Regions from separate parts of the Homo sapiens genome. Here regions 2 and 3 are each linked to region 1. The links are contacts of gene promoters, found by promoter capture Hi-C in human tissues and cell types (Jung and others, 2019). All regions are on one chromosome and are shown on one strand. The core of a region is centred on a gene start or on the middle of the fragment in contact, and the rest is flanking DNA. Distances in the headings are between cores, read along the strand shown. Region 1 holds the start of DPM1 (dolichyl-phosphate mannosyltransferase subunit 1, catalytic). Region 2 overlaps ATP9A (ATPase phospholipid transporting 9A (putative)). Region 3 overlaps NFATC2 (nuclear factor of activated T cells 2).

Evidence for each region. The method cuts DNA at HindIII sites, captures the fragments that hold promoters and counts their contacts. A contact is called where the count stands out against the background at its distance.
Region 2: a fragment that was not itself captured here is called in contact with the fragment with the promoter of DPM1 in region 1 in 2 of the 25 tissues and cell types used here (dorsolateral prefrontal cortex and mesendoderm cells).
Region 3: a contact is called between a fragment that was not itself captured here and the fragment with the promoter of DPM1 in region 1, in 1 of the 25 tissues and cell types used here (heart right ventricle).

Annotation. Positions count from the first base shown.
Region 1 is chr20:50,955,945-50,959,781 of GRCh38, reverse strand. It overlaps DPM1 (dolichyl-phosphate mannosyltransferase subunit 1, catalytic), which reads left to right and starts at 1,250. Exons shown (of 9, transcript NM_003859.3): 1 at 1,250-1,419. The coding sequence starts at 1,259. MOCS3 (molybdenum cofactor synthesis 3) reads right to left here and starts at 964. Exons shown (of 1, transcript NM_014484.5): 1 at 1-964. The coding sequence starts at 939. RefSeq lists enhancers at 181-791, 1,004-1,493. The HindIII fragment of the contact is 10,279 bases long and covers 1-3,837 here.
Region 2 is chr20:51,594,209-51,598,045 of GRCh38, reverse strand. It overlaps ATP9A (ATPase phospholipid transporting 9A (putative)), which reads left to right. Exons shown (of 28, transcript NM_006045.3): 28 at 1-1,532. Among named protein-coding and RNA genes, the nearest start is that of NFATC2, 53 kb to the right of the region's middle. The HindIII fragment of the contact is 3,944 bases long and covers 1-3,772 here.
Region 3 is chr20:51,497,256-51,501,092 of GRCh38, reverse strand. All of the region lies in intron 3 of NFATC2 (nuclear factor of activated T cells 2), which reads left to right. Among named protein-coding and RNA genes, the nearest start is that of NFATC2, 44 kb to the left of the region's middle. RefSeq lists an enhancer at 3,392-3,521. The HindIII fragment of the contact is 3,016 bases long and covers 443-3,458 here.

The DNA.
Region 1 (3,837 bases), core at 1-2,500:
TTCATAGTCCAGCAGATCAGTCACAGTGGGCCGTTCCCCGCAAGCTGCACAGTCGAGCCTGCGGCTCCGCAGCCGAATAGAGCGGAAATGCCCTCTCAGGGCATCAAAGAGCAACAAGCTGCCACTGTAAGAGGGGCCCAGACCCGCAGCGATTTTCAGCACTTCCAAGGCCTGCAGGCAGCCCAGGACCCCGGTAACGACACCGAGCACCCCGCCGTCCGCGCAGTTGGTCACTGTCTCCGCTGGGGGTGGTTGGGGGAATATGCAGCGATAGCAAGGGCCACCGTCATAATGGTAGACTGTGATTTGGCCCTCGAAGCGCAAGGCACTGGCAGACACGAGGGGCCGACCCGCCAGCACACATGCGTCATTAACCAGGTAGCGAGTGGGCACGTTGTCCGAGCAGTCAGCCACCACATCATATCGGCGGACCAGGTCTAGGGCAGTGGCTGGCGTAAGGGCCTGAGTGTACGGCACGCATTCCACTGCCGAATTGAGGCGGCGCAGCGAGGCGGCGGCCGAAAAGGCCTTGGCCTGGCCAGCCAGTGCCTCGCCATGCAGCACTTGGCGGGCCAGGTTGCTCATCTCTACCACGTCATAGTCCACAAGGCCAAGGCGGCCCACGCCGGCCGCTGCCAAGTACTGCGCTAGTGGACAGCCGAGCCCACCGCAGCCCACGATTAGCACGCACGCGGTCCCCAGGCGCAGCTGTCCGTGCACGCCCAGCTCGGGCAGCACTAGCTGCCGGCTATAGCGCAGAATCTCATCTCGGGACAGAGCGGCCTTCGGCGGCAGCGGCGACACCGGAACCAGCCGTTCTGGCTGCGGTTCCTGCTCAGCCAAAAGAGCCGACGCCAGCTTCTGCTTCAGCGAATTCAATTCCTCCTCACGTTGGGCAACTTCAGCTTGTAAGGCGAGTACCTCCTCCCGGGAAGCCATGGCGACCTCTTCCGGAAGTTGTCGTGAAAGGCATTTCCGCTTCCGTCTTCTGTCTCCTAGCGACTGGGATAAACTAAAAAACTTTATGGAGCTTGGGAAAAGGTGATGAATAGATATTTACTTCCTGAAGAAACCTTCAGATTAAACTTCAAAGATGTATAAATCCAGAATATTTCTAATTGAACCACGCAATGGCCCTAGAAGAACTAGCGATCAATCACACAGGTCATCCCCCGCTTCCGAATTTGGTACGGTCCGACCCGTCCTTTTCCGCGCCACATTACGTAATTCCGCTTCCGGCATCTGGCTCAGTTCCGCCATGGCCTCCTTGGAAGTCAGTCGTAGTCCTCGCAGGTCTCGGCGGGAGCTGGAAGTGCGCAGTCCACGACAGAACAAATATTCGGTGCTTTTACCTACCTACAACGAGCGCGAGAACCTGCCGCTCATCGTGTGGCTGCTGGTGAAAAGCTTCTCCGAGAGGTAGCGCACCAGGTCTCCCTCCCCGAAGAATGAGATGAGCTGGCTTCCCCGGCCCGGGTGTCGGCAGCTGGCTGCGCGAAGCGGCCCTGTCCAGCCTTCTTTGCCTCACACAGGAAGGCCCGGGGAGAGGGCCACCCTGCGAGGGAAGCAGAGGCGGATGCTTGTTGGGTTTTCTTCGTGTCCTGGGTTCTCATTCCTGCCCTTGGGTTTTGTGAGACTCTCATTTATCTTTATTATGTAGTACTCCCGTCCCCCGCCTTTCCGTAGAAAGGTTGGCCACTCTTTTACTTGGAAGCGAGGCTGAAAGCGTGATCCCACTCCTCCCTCTAGGCGGTCAGGATCTGCGGCAAGAGCCGGGAGTCCAAGCGAGAGCTCTCACTCTCCGCTCCGGTGCCGAGTGCTTACATAAGCATGAGGTTTGGTGTGTGTGGGTTAGGGAGCTATTGCTGGGCACGATAACCTTTCTGGAAAGGAGAAAGCAGAAGAGCATCTTCGCTGATCACTGGTGGATGTTTGGTGTGATTGTTAGAACCGGGATGGGGGGTGGGTGGAGTTCGAATTTGGAAGTGTTAATGCAGTGTTTTTAAAAACTGCAAAAAATCCTGGAGTCAGTACGAAGTAACTTGTTTTACGATTGCACAAATGGGATCATGCTGTGAAATCTTTGAAGACTTTTTCTCATATTAACATGTACAAACATAGCAAATTACTTTGGAAGTTAGGTAACATTCCATATGGCTGTGTTATTTATTTAATCAGGTCATGGCAATGAACTGGATTATTTCCAGCGCCTTTTGGTTGTTTCTGTTTTTTGGCTTTTGCTTTGTCGATGAGAACAAGGACTTTGTTCACACCATATTTTCCAGCTAAATTTAGAAAAGTGCTTGACACATAGCGGTGCTCCTTTATTGCATCAGTGTTGGCAGCAGACGCGTTCATACTTTTACTTGTGTACTAGGGATAAATTCTTCGAGGTAGGATTGCTGGGTCGACAGAAATGTGCTTAAAATGGACAGTTACTGCCAAATTGCTCTAAAGAAAAAAAAGGTTGTACAAGTTTGGACTCTCCATTCTTCAGAGTGCCTGTTTCCCTATCAACCAGCCCGCCTGAGCATTAGACTTAACATTGTTGGAAGTACTCATTTGTGAAAACCATTGCTGTTTTGATTGTATTTCCTTGAATAACTGCCTTCATATGCCTTGCCCCTCAGAGTTTTAAAATTTTTATTTTTCCTGTTTAATCTTTTAATTTTGATTTCTATAAGCTCTAAATTAAAGAAAGTAACTATCATACAACCGATCTCGTTCAGGGCTTGTATTCTAATTTTGCAATTTTTTTTTTTGCTGTTTTAATTTTTTTATGTAGTACAATTTATGTTTCCTTTTAATGGTTTGTGAATCAATCTTTTAAGATCAAAATGAAGTTTGATAAAGGAAACAAAACTTTTCAGATGCAATCAAATTACTTGAAGTCAGCCCAGCTTGGTACCTTTGAGCTGCCTCACCCTCAGGTGGTGTAGCTGCTTTGAAGTGGTAGGGGACAGTAATTTGCTTTTAACGACCCCATTTTGTTTATGGAATTTCTCTTTCAGCACGTCTATTAAAATCACCTTACATATTTTGGCATGTAAAGGCACCAGTGCCCAGATTTAAGGCACAGTGGGAAGCCAAAGTCATTGTTCTACTCTTGGAGAATAGATAACACAGGGGTTTGCTTTCTTGTCTTCAAAGTTTGCTGGGGCTGACTTGTTAAAGCCTTTAACAGTGGAATATGTTTTCTGGTTGATTTTCTTGTATTTGTTTCTTTTTTCTTTTTCTTTTTTTTTTTTTTCTTTTGGAGACGGAGTCTTGCTCTGTTGCCCAGGCTGGAGTGCGGTGGCGCCATCTTGGCTCACTGCAGGCCCCGCCTCCCGGGTTCTTTTTAGTAGAGACGGGGTTTCACTGTGTTAGCCAGGATGGTCTCGATATCCTGACCTCGTGATCCGCCTGCCTCGGCCTCCCAAAGTGCTGGGATTACAGGTGTGAGCCACCGCGCCCAGCCTCTTGTATTTGTTTCTTAAAGCAGGACCAAGAGAAAACGGAATGTTATGTCGTAGGTATTATTTATCCACCAAGTATTGTGTTGGTTTGTTTTTAGACTAGAAACTACCACCTGAGATTAATGGGAAGTAACAGATGTTAATTCTGAAGCACAGTGGAATCTTTTGTAATGCTACTCTGCTTTTGTTTTTTTAATTTGATAATGTGAGGTAATAGGCACAACTATTTGAAATTGTGGTTTAAGATAATGTCACCATTCTAAAATCGGTTTTTTTAAAGATGAAATTAAATCAGATTTATACTTGATTATTCTATTTGGATCAGATTAACAAGAATAATCACTGAGTTACTCAGTTTGGTTTGAGTTACCATGTAAAG
Region 2 (3,837 bases), core at 551-3,050, 640 kb before region 1:
AACTCCAGCTGCTTGGAAGGCATCCCAAGGGCGCATCTTAAAGTTGGAGCAGACCTCCCTTTTCCAGCCCCTGGGGCCATTAGACCACGTGCTGGAACTAGCATTGTAAAATTCCCATCCCAGTTCCACTCCCCTGAAGTGAAACCCTTTTTTTTTTGTGACAGTAAATCTTAAAAATCATTGTCTCTTTATGAACATTTCCTCAGTTTCTTCTCTGCTGAAAATGTAAGCCATGCTACTTTTTAATGTATTTTGAATTTTGTGCTCATTGGAAATTGATATGCTAATGCCTCCCCCACCCCCCGCCAGACTTTTCTTTTTATACTTTGTCTTGTTTTTACTGGGGTAGGCTGGGCATGCGTGCGTGCCTTTAGGGCAGCATTTTAAACCTTTGCCAAAATTGCAAATGGGACATGTACATTCTTCTGCTCCATCCTACTTAAACACCTATCAGCTATTTTTATCTTTAACCTTTTCTGTATGTTTGAAGTGTGTGGGGGGTGTGTGTGTGTGTGAAAGAGCGAGAGAATGATGTCATCTAAAGTTTTTTGAAGAATTATTTGGTTTTCATTGCATTAAAATTCTATCACTCCCAGCTTTGTTTTCATTTAAAAAAATATACAAAGAGCTTTGTAAATACAACACATTTTATTTCTCCCCCTTCTTTTAATGTACAGCTTTTTTGCCACTTATATATACTTAAAATATTCCCATGAATTATGTCCAGTTCTTCTTGGAAAAAAATTTGGTTTTGAATGAACCTGCAAAGCATCCTGCAGCGTGAGCAGCTCCTCCACCTGGAGCTCCGAAGCATCTTCTCAGGCCAAAGCGGCATTACCCGTGAATCTGTCTTCTCCGCCACAGCATGGTTTGAGGCGCAGTCTGTTAATATAGCTGGGCCATGTCAGTGACTGTTGTGTTTGTGGGGTCAGGTGGGGGGCATGGTATTTGCAAAAAAAACAAATTATGGCTAATTTATTATTTTGTTGCAGTGGGGTTAACTGTAAACTCATGTAAGAGTCTGTGATTTCCTCATTGGTTGATCTCTCTCTCTGTAATCCTCATTGCAAATTTTCACCAGGACAGCGTTTTTTGATTAGAGGGGAGCTCTGGCACAGTATGCTTTAATTTAGCAGGAACTTCCAGATGATTTAAATTCTCGATGCTGTGATGACACACATATGATCTTTCGTGTTTCTGAGCGACTCTACTTTCATTGTTTGCCAGCGTGGCTCGTTGCTGTTGCCCAATAAAGCTTGTGTACGTTCTGCCTTGGGGGATTATTTTAATTTGTACAGAAACATGAATTCTGGTATCAAAATGAGGACTTTTTATTATAACGCTCCTATTTTTTCTTTATTTCATGGTACATGAAATGTAAAGAAAACTCTTTCCAGTTCAGAAAATTATTTTGATTTTGGCAAAAAAAACCCCAAATCAATGCATGTTATTTATTATTTTGTACTATTGTCCATCCCAGACGTGTCAGAATTTCAAAAGGTGATAGATATAAATGGAAAATAAGATGAAAACCATAAGCTTCATATTGTATTTCTATACACGGTCCTCGATGACTGGAATCTTTTTTTTTTTTTTTTATCGAGGGATGGAACATATAGGAACAGTCAGTTAAGTTTTAGGCAGAAAAAATTTTTAAGGCCCGGCGCAGTGGCTCATGTCTGTAATCCCAGCTTTGGGAGACCAAGGCAGGAGGATTGCTTGAGCCCAGAGTTTGAGACCAGCCTGGGTAACGTGGTGAAACTCATGTACAAAAAATACAAGAAAACGAGCTGGGTGTACTGGCTCAAGCCTGTGGTCCCAGCGACTTGGGAAGCTGAGGCGGAACAATCACCTGAGCCTCGGAGGTCGAGGCTGCAGTGAGTCGTGATTGTGCCACTGCACTCCTGCCTGGGCAACAGAGCAAGACTCCGTCTCAAAACAAAACAAAACAAAAAAAGCTTTTGTGTAGGAAGTAGTTGAAATCAATTGGGTGATTTTTGTCCCTTGGGGGACACGTGGCGGTATGAAGACCTTTTCAGTTGTTACAACTCGGGGAAGAGGAGTGCTACAAGCAAGAGATGCTGCCGAACACCCTGTGATTCACAGGGTGGCCCCCACAACAGAGCCCAAAGTGTCAAAAGTGCCAACATTGAGAAACCCTAATTATTTTTTTTCGAGGTGGAGTCTTGCCCTGTTATCTAGGCTGCAATGCAGTGGTGCAATCTTGGCTCACTGCAACCTCCGCCTCCCAGGTTCAGGCGATTCTCCTGCCTCAGCCTTCTGAGTAGCTGGGCCTGCCACCACGCCCGGTTAAGTTTTGTATCTTTAGTAGAGACGGGGTTTCACCATGTTGGCCAGGCTGGTCTCGAACTCCAGGCCTCAGGTGATCTGCCTGCCTCAGCCTCCCAAAGTGCTGGGATTACAGGCATGAGCCCATACGCCCAGCCAGAGAAACCCTAATTTAATTGGCACGTGTCAGCTGTACCATTTGTCTGTCTGTATTTGTAAAAGGGCCCGGAGGTATAAGCTCGTGTGTCTCAGGAAGCAAGTTATGCCTCCGCCTACTATACCAAATACTATACCAAATGGTGTAATTAGTGGCTGTCTGCAGTGTGAGCTGCTGGTTCCCTCTTTTTGGTTCTCAATGGAAAGGGCCATCCTCAGTATATAGATTAGAAAGATAATTGTAACTTAGTTGTGTTATCTCATGACAGCAGCAAAAGGAAGGTATGTGGTTTCAAAGGTAGGGACCGACCATGCTTTCCCTTAAACGTGTGCTATCCCTGCACGACCTTAAGCCTCTGCATTTGCCTGCAGTGAACTTCCGTCCATGTGCGGACACTCCTCCGCCGGAGCCGCTAGGGGGAACTTGAGGACTGAAAGACATTGCTGTTTCCTGTTTTCCACAACCAGCCGGACCCCACGTGCCCAACTGCCCTGAGTTTCAAGACTGTGCTTTCATAGCTTCAGAATTTATTTCATGGCCAGAGGCTCCGTGAAAAACAGACATTTCTTTTCATGTTGTTGACCAGAATATTTTGCTGGACTTAGTTAAAAAAAAAAAAAAGGAAAAAAAAAAGGCAGGGAGGGTGAGAGATGAATATTTATTTGCTCTTGGATATTTGCATTTTTGAATAATTGGCAAGTAGGAAGCTTTGCCAATTCACTGTTCAGTCTAATAAGGTTTTGAGACGAAATGTACCAACACCCCAAGTACTTTTAGTGTTTTTGTTATGAAACTTTTCAGGGTGACATGAAGCCCTGTGGTATTTGTGAGGAGGTCTATAAATGATGGATTTGCTCACCTCAAAATAGAACTGTAGTCGCTCCAAATTTTCCAGAAGTGGGAGCACAGTGACAGAATTCATTCAGGACTTGCTAATTTCCTACTTTAAATGGGTTACATAACAGAACCGGTCCCGCCTTCGCGCCTCTCAAAACTACCCATGAAGTGATGGTGAAATGTATCATTAAAAGCTAGAAATAGCTCTGCTAAACTCTGGGAAAAAGATGAATTTTTTTCTGATCTCCCTCTCCCCACCCCCCTTTTTTCACCCAAACATTGCATAATGTTAAAAAAGTCAAATCTTTCCGTGGGATTTAATTTCATTTTCCATGTGGCTGTGGTCGGAGGGGTAACTCAAGCACTTTGGGGGCTGGTGGATTTTTGGAGGATCACGCATTCCCGGATCAGTTTGCATCCAAAGCCTTAGCCGAGAAATACACCCAATCCTGGGGTTTCTCCCCATCCCTCCTGCCCCCCTTTTGTGGATGAGTTATCTATAACATAGCATCTTTTCAGAAAGCCTGCCTTCTTGCAGGAATGCCCAAACAAAG
Region 3 (3,837 bases), core at 701-3,200, 540 kb before region 1:
AGAGAAAAACCATCTGTGTTTGAGTGTCTTTAGGTTGGGAACTTGGTTCCTCAGTCTTTGCACTGGTTGCCAGCTCATTTTCATTACTTGCCTGGCCCCTTAAGGTGTTTGTGTTGAACTCTGATAGCAAGAAAGGTGTTTCTGCTAGTCTAAAACACTTCCCACTCCATTCTTTTCCTTTCTTTTGGATGGAGCTTTTGTTGGTTCCTCCTTCTCACCCTCTGACTGACCAGACTGCCTGGGAGGGTGAGGGTGGGGGTGGGGGTGAGGGTGGTGAGTGTGGGGGTAGAGGTGCGGGGTGGTGAGTGTGAAGGTGGAGGTGGGGTGGTGGTGAGGGTGGGGGTGGTGGGGGTTGGTGAGGGTGAGGGCGAGGGTAGAGGTGCGGGGTGGTGAGTGTGGAGGTGGGAGTGGGGTGGTGGTGAGGGTGGGGGTGGAGGGGGGGGTGGTGAGGGTGAGGGTGGAGGGGTGGGAGCATTCTTGGCTTCCTCTTCTGCCTGAGCCTCGCTGTGCAACCTCAGCCCACATACTTCTCACTGAGCTGTAGGAGCCTCTGCCCTAAAACGAGTGGGTAGGGCTCTGTAAGTTCCCTCCTACCTCTAAACTTACTTAATTCTATGACTCAGAGTAATAGGTATCACCCAAGTAGAAGTGCCTATGTTTAGTTTTGTTCACTTTGAGGTGGGAGTTCCAACTTCTCTTCAACTTGGGTTGCCTTAACTTGCAACTCCAGGGTTGATTCATTCAGGGACTTGAAGCTGTTAAGCTGTCATTTTTTCTATTAAAAATTTTTTTTAAAGAGTTTGGGGATAATTGAGCTAGAAGGAGACTTAGAAATCATCTAGTTGGATGACTGGTGTGTCTGATTCATGTATCATTTTACTGAGGGTTTCAGCTACCATTTTACTGAGGGCTCTGGTTATCATTTTATTGAGGGATTCCTACGTGCCAGACCTTTTGCTAAACTAAAGTTGTCTCATTCAATCTCATACTGAGTACTTGAGGGTAGGTACTGTCATGATCAGTTTTCAGGTGGCCAAATAGAGGTTCAGAGAGATTATATGAAATTTTAATATAAAGATAATACAGCAACTAAATTGGCAGAGCCACGACTCAGATCATTAAAGGCAGAGGTTAGAAAAGTATTACTTATTGAGCATGTACAATAGGCCAGACATTAAGAGAAGACTTGCATTAACCATTGTAACCCCATGAATTGGGTTCTACTATCTTACAAATGAAAAAACTGAGCCCCAGAGAAATGTGACTTGCCTGAGGTAAAGCTTTTACAGGTAGGAAGCAGAAGTGTTTTAGATTTCTTTTTCTTTCTTTCTTTCTTTCTTTTTTTTTTTTTAAGATGGAGTCTTGCTCTGTCATCCAGGCTGGAGTGCAGTGGTGCGATCTCGGCTCACTGCAACATCTGCCTCCGGATTCAAGCGATTCTCCTGCCTCAGCCTCCAAAGCAGCTGGTATTAGCCACCACGCCTGGCTAATTTTTGTATTTTTGGTAGAGACGGGTTTCATCATGTTGGTCAGGCTGATCTTGAACTCCTGGCCTCAAGTGATCCACCCACCTTGGCTTCCGAAAATGCTGGGATTATAGGCATGAGCCACCGTGCCCGGCCGCGTTTTAGATTTTGAATCTCTTTCTCTTTCTCATCTGCTTCTCTTTGCCTTGTGATCTTTTATGGGCATCCAGTTGGCCTGTTGGCCTTCCTCACAGTTCTGTGCATCTGTGTGGGAGCTGGGCTCGGGGTAGGGTGCTCAACCATTTCTTACCTCCTCCCCTCTGTCACCTGGGGCCAAGCTAGCATCATCTCTTGTCTGGGTGACAGCCTCCTAACTGGTTTCCCTGCCTCCACTTGCACCCTTCATTCATCTGCTCCCCACACAGCTGCCAGAGGATCTGTTCAGAGTGTACCTTGGTCTACACCACCCCCATTCTGAGCCCTCCTGTGTCTCCCCTCCCGGAGTATAGATGCAGAGTAGCCTTGTGCTCCTCACCGTGGACCAGGCCGTGTCACCCGGTCCCTGCCTGCCTCTCTTCCTCACTCACTCACTCCCTCACTCCATTCCCACCTGCTAATGGCCTCTGTGCTATTCCTCAAACACTCCAGGTAGGCTCCTGCCTCAGGGCCTTTGCACGTGCCTTTCACTCCTCCCAGCTATCCACATGGCTACTTTCTCTGCTTCATTCAGCTGTCAGCTCAATTGTCACCTCCTCAAAGCAGCTTCCCCTGATTCTCCTACCAAAATAGATCCCCTTTCTCTCCTGCCATCATCTGTCTTTCTACTTAGGTGTTTGTTTTGAGATGAAGTCTCACTCTGTTGCCTAGGCTGGAATGCAGTGGCTCAATCTTGGCTCACTGCAAGCTCCACCCCCTGGGTTCAAACAATTCTCATGCCTCAGCCTCCTGAGCAGCTGGGACTACAGGTGCATGCCACCATGCCTGGCTAATTTTTGTATTTTTAGTAAGGATGGGGTTTCGCCATGTTGGCCAGTGATCTGGCCTCAAGTGATCTGCCTGCCTCGGCCTCCCAAAGTGCTGGGATTACAGGCGTGAGCCACCATGCCTGGCCTCTGTTTGTTTCTTTTTTTCCATAGCCTGATATATGTTCTCTCTTCCTTTCCTCCTCCCTTCCAACCCCTTCACCCACCTACTCATCCACCCCCCTGCCACACATTCATCTTTCATCTCCTTCATCGTTGCTTCATCCCCAGTCCCAAGCACAGTGCCTGTCACATAGTAGGTACTTCATCTATCTCAAGAACAGCGGTTGAGAGGTTGTTGCTGCTGCTTTGAGGCTTTGGTGAGCCCCGCTGTGTCTGGCCTCTCAGATGAACAGTGCCCTGGGAGTCTGGGTGATGGATGTGCTGGCGTAGGCGGCTCCTTGGTGGCTTTCCTGTGCTAAAGGAAGCAGAGGAAGGAAATGACAACCATTCAGAAGGACCGGTTCAGTTCACTAGGACATGCCCAAGCTTCCCGGCCCCTCGTGTCTGTGGCCAACATGAATTGGGCTCGCTTGAGGCCAACAGAAGTCGTGACTTGATGGAATAGGCACAAGTTAGTTTTATGATGATTAAGAAGGAAAAAAAGAAAACCTTATTTTTCACTTTCCTTTTTTAATCAAGAAGTATGCCGTGGGTGTTCCCTTGTGGTTTTTGAGTCAAAGAGAGTATTGTTTTTGAGCTCTGAGTTCCCCCGGGGGCTGCAGCTTTGCGTGTATCTAACTTTAACTTTGAACTAATGCTTTTAGGGCTCTGGTGGGATTGGGGGTCCCGGGTCCCTTTCTGAACAAGGCAGCAGGCTTGTTTATTGTGTCCAAAGCGTGCCTCTCAGATCTCACCCCATCTTCTTCCTGTTCTCAATCGCCCCCTCCCTGGCCAATCTGCCCCTCCTCTCAGCAGTTCCCCCTCACTCCTCCGTGAGCAAAGGAGGGGGAAGGATCTGCTTTGGTGGAAGGCGGTGGCTGCAGAGGCTGGGCTCAGGCGAACGTCTATCATGGGGGGAGGCGTGGAATAAGCCATGAGTACCCAAATGTGGCCTTGTTTGCAGGGATTGAACAAGGGTGGTCTGGGGCTGGACCGGGGGTTTCAGCCAAGTAATATTGGGGTGAAAAATGCAGAAAAGTCTTGTGCAAAAATGGGATCATATTAAGTTCATGCACTGGCCCTAAAGCAACCCCGTGACTATGTCTCTAGAGCAAGTGCTTACACATCCACGTGGACTCGTTCTCACGTGCATCTTCTTTTTGCATTTATCTTTTGGTGGATTGTTATTTTTCTTGCTGCGGGAGGGAGAAGAATGATTGGCCCAAGTGCACCTTGACTTTGGACCC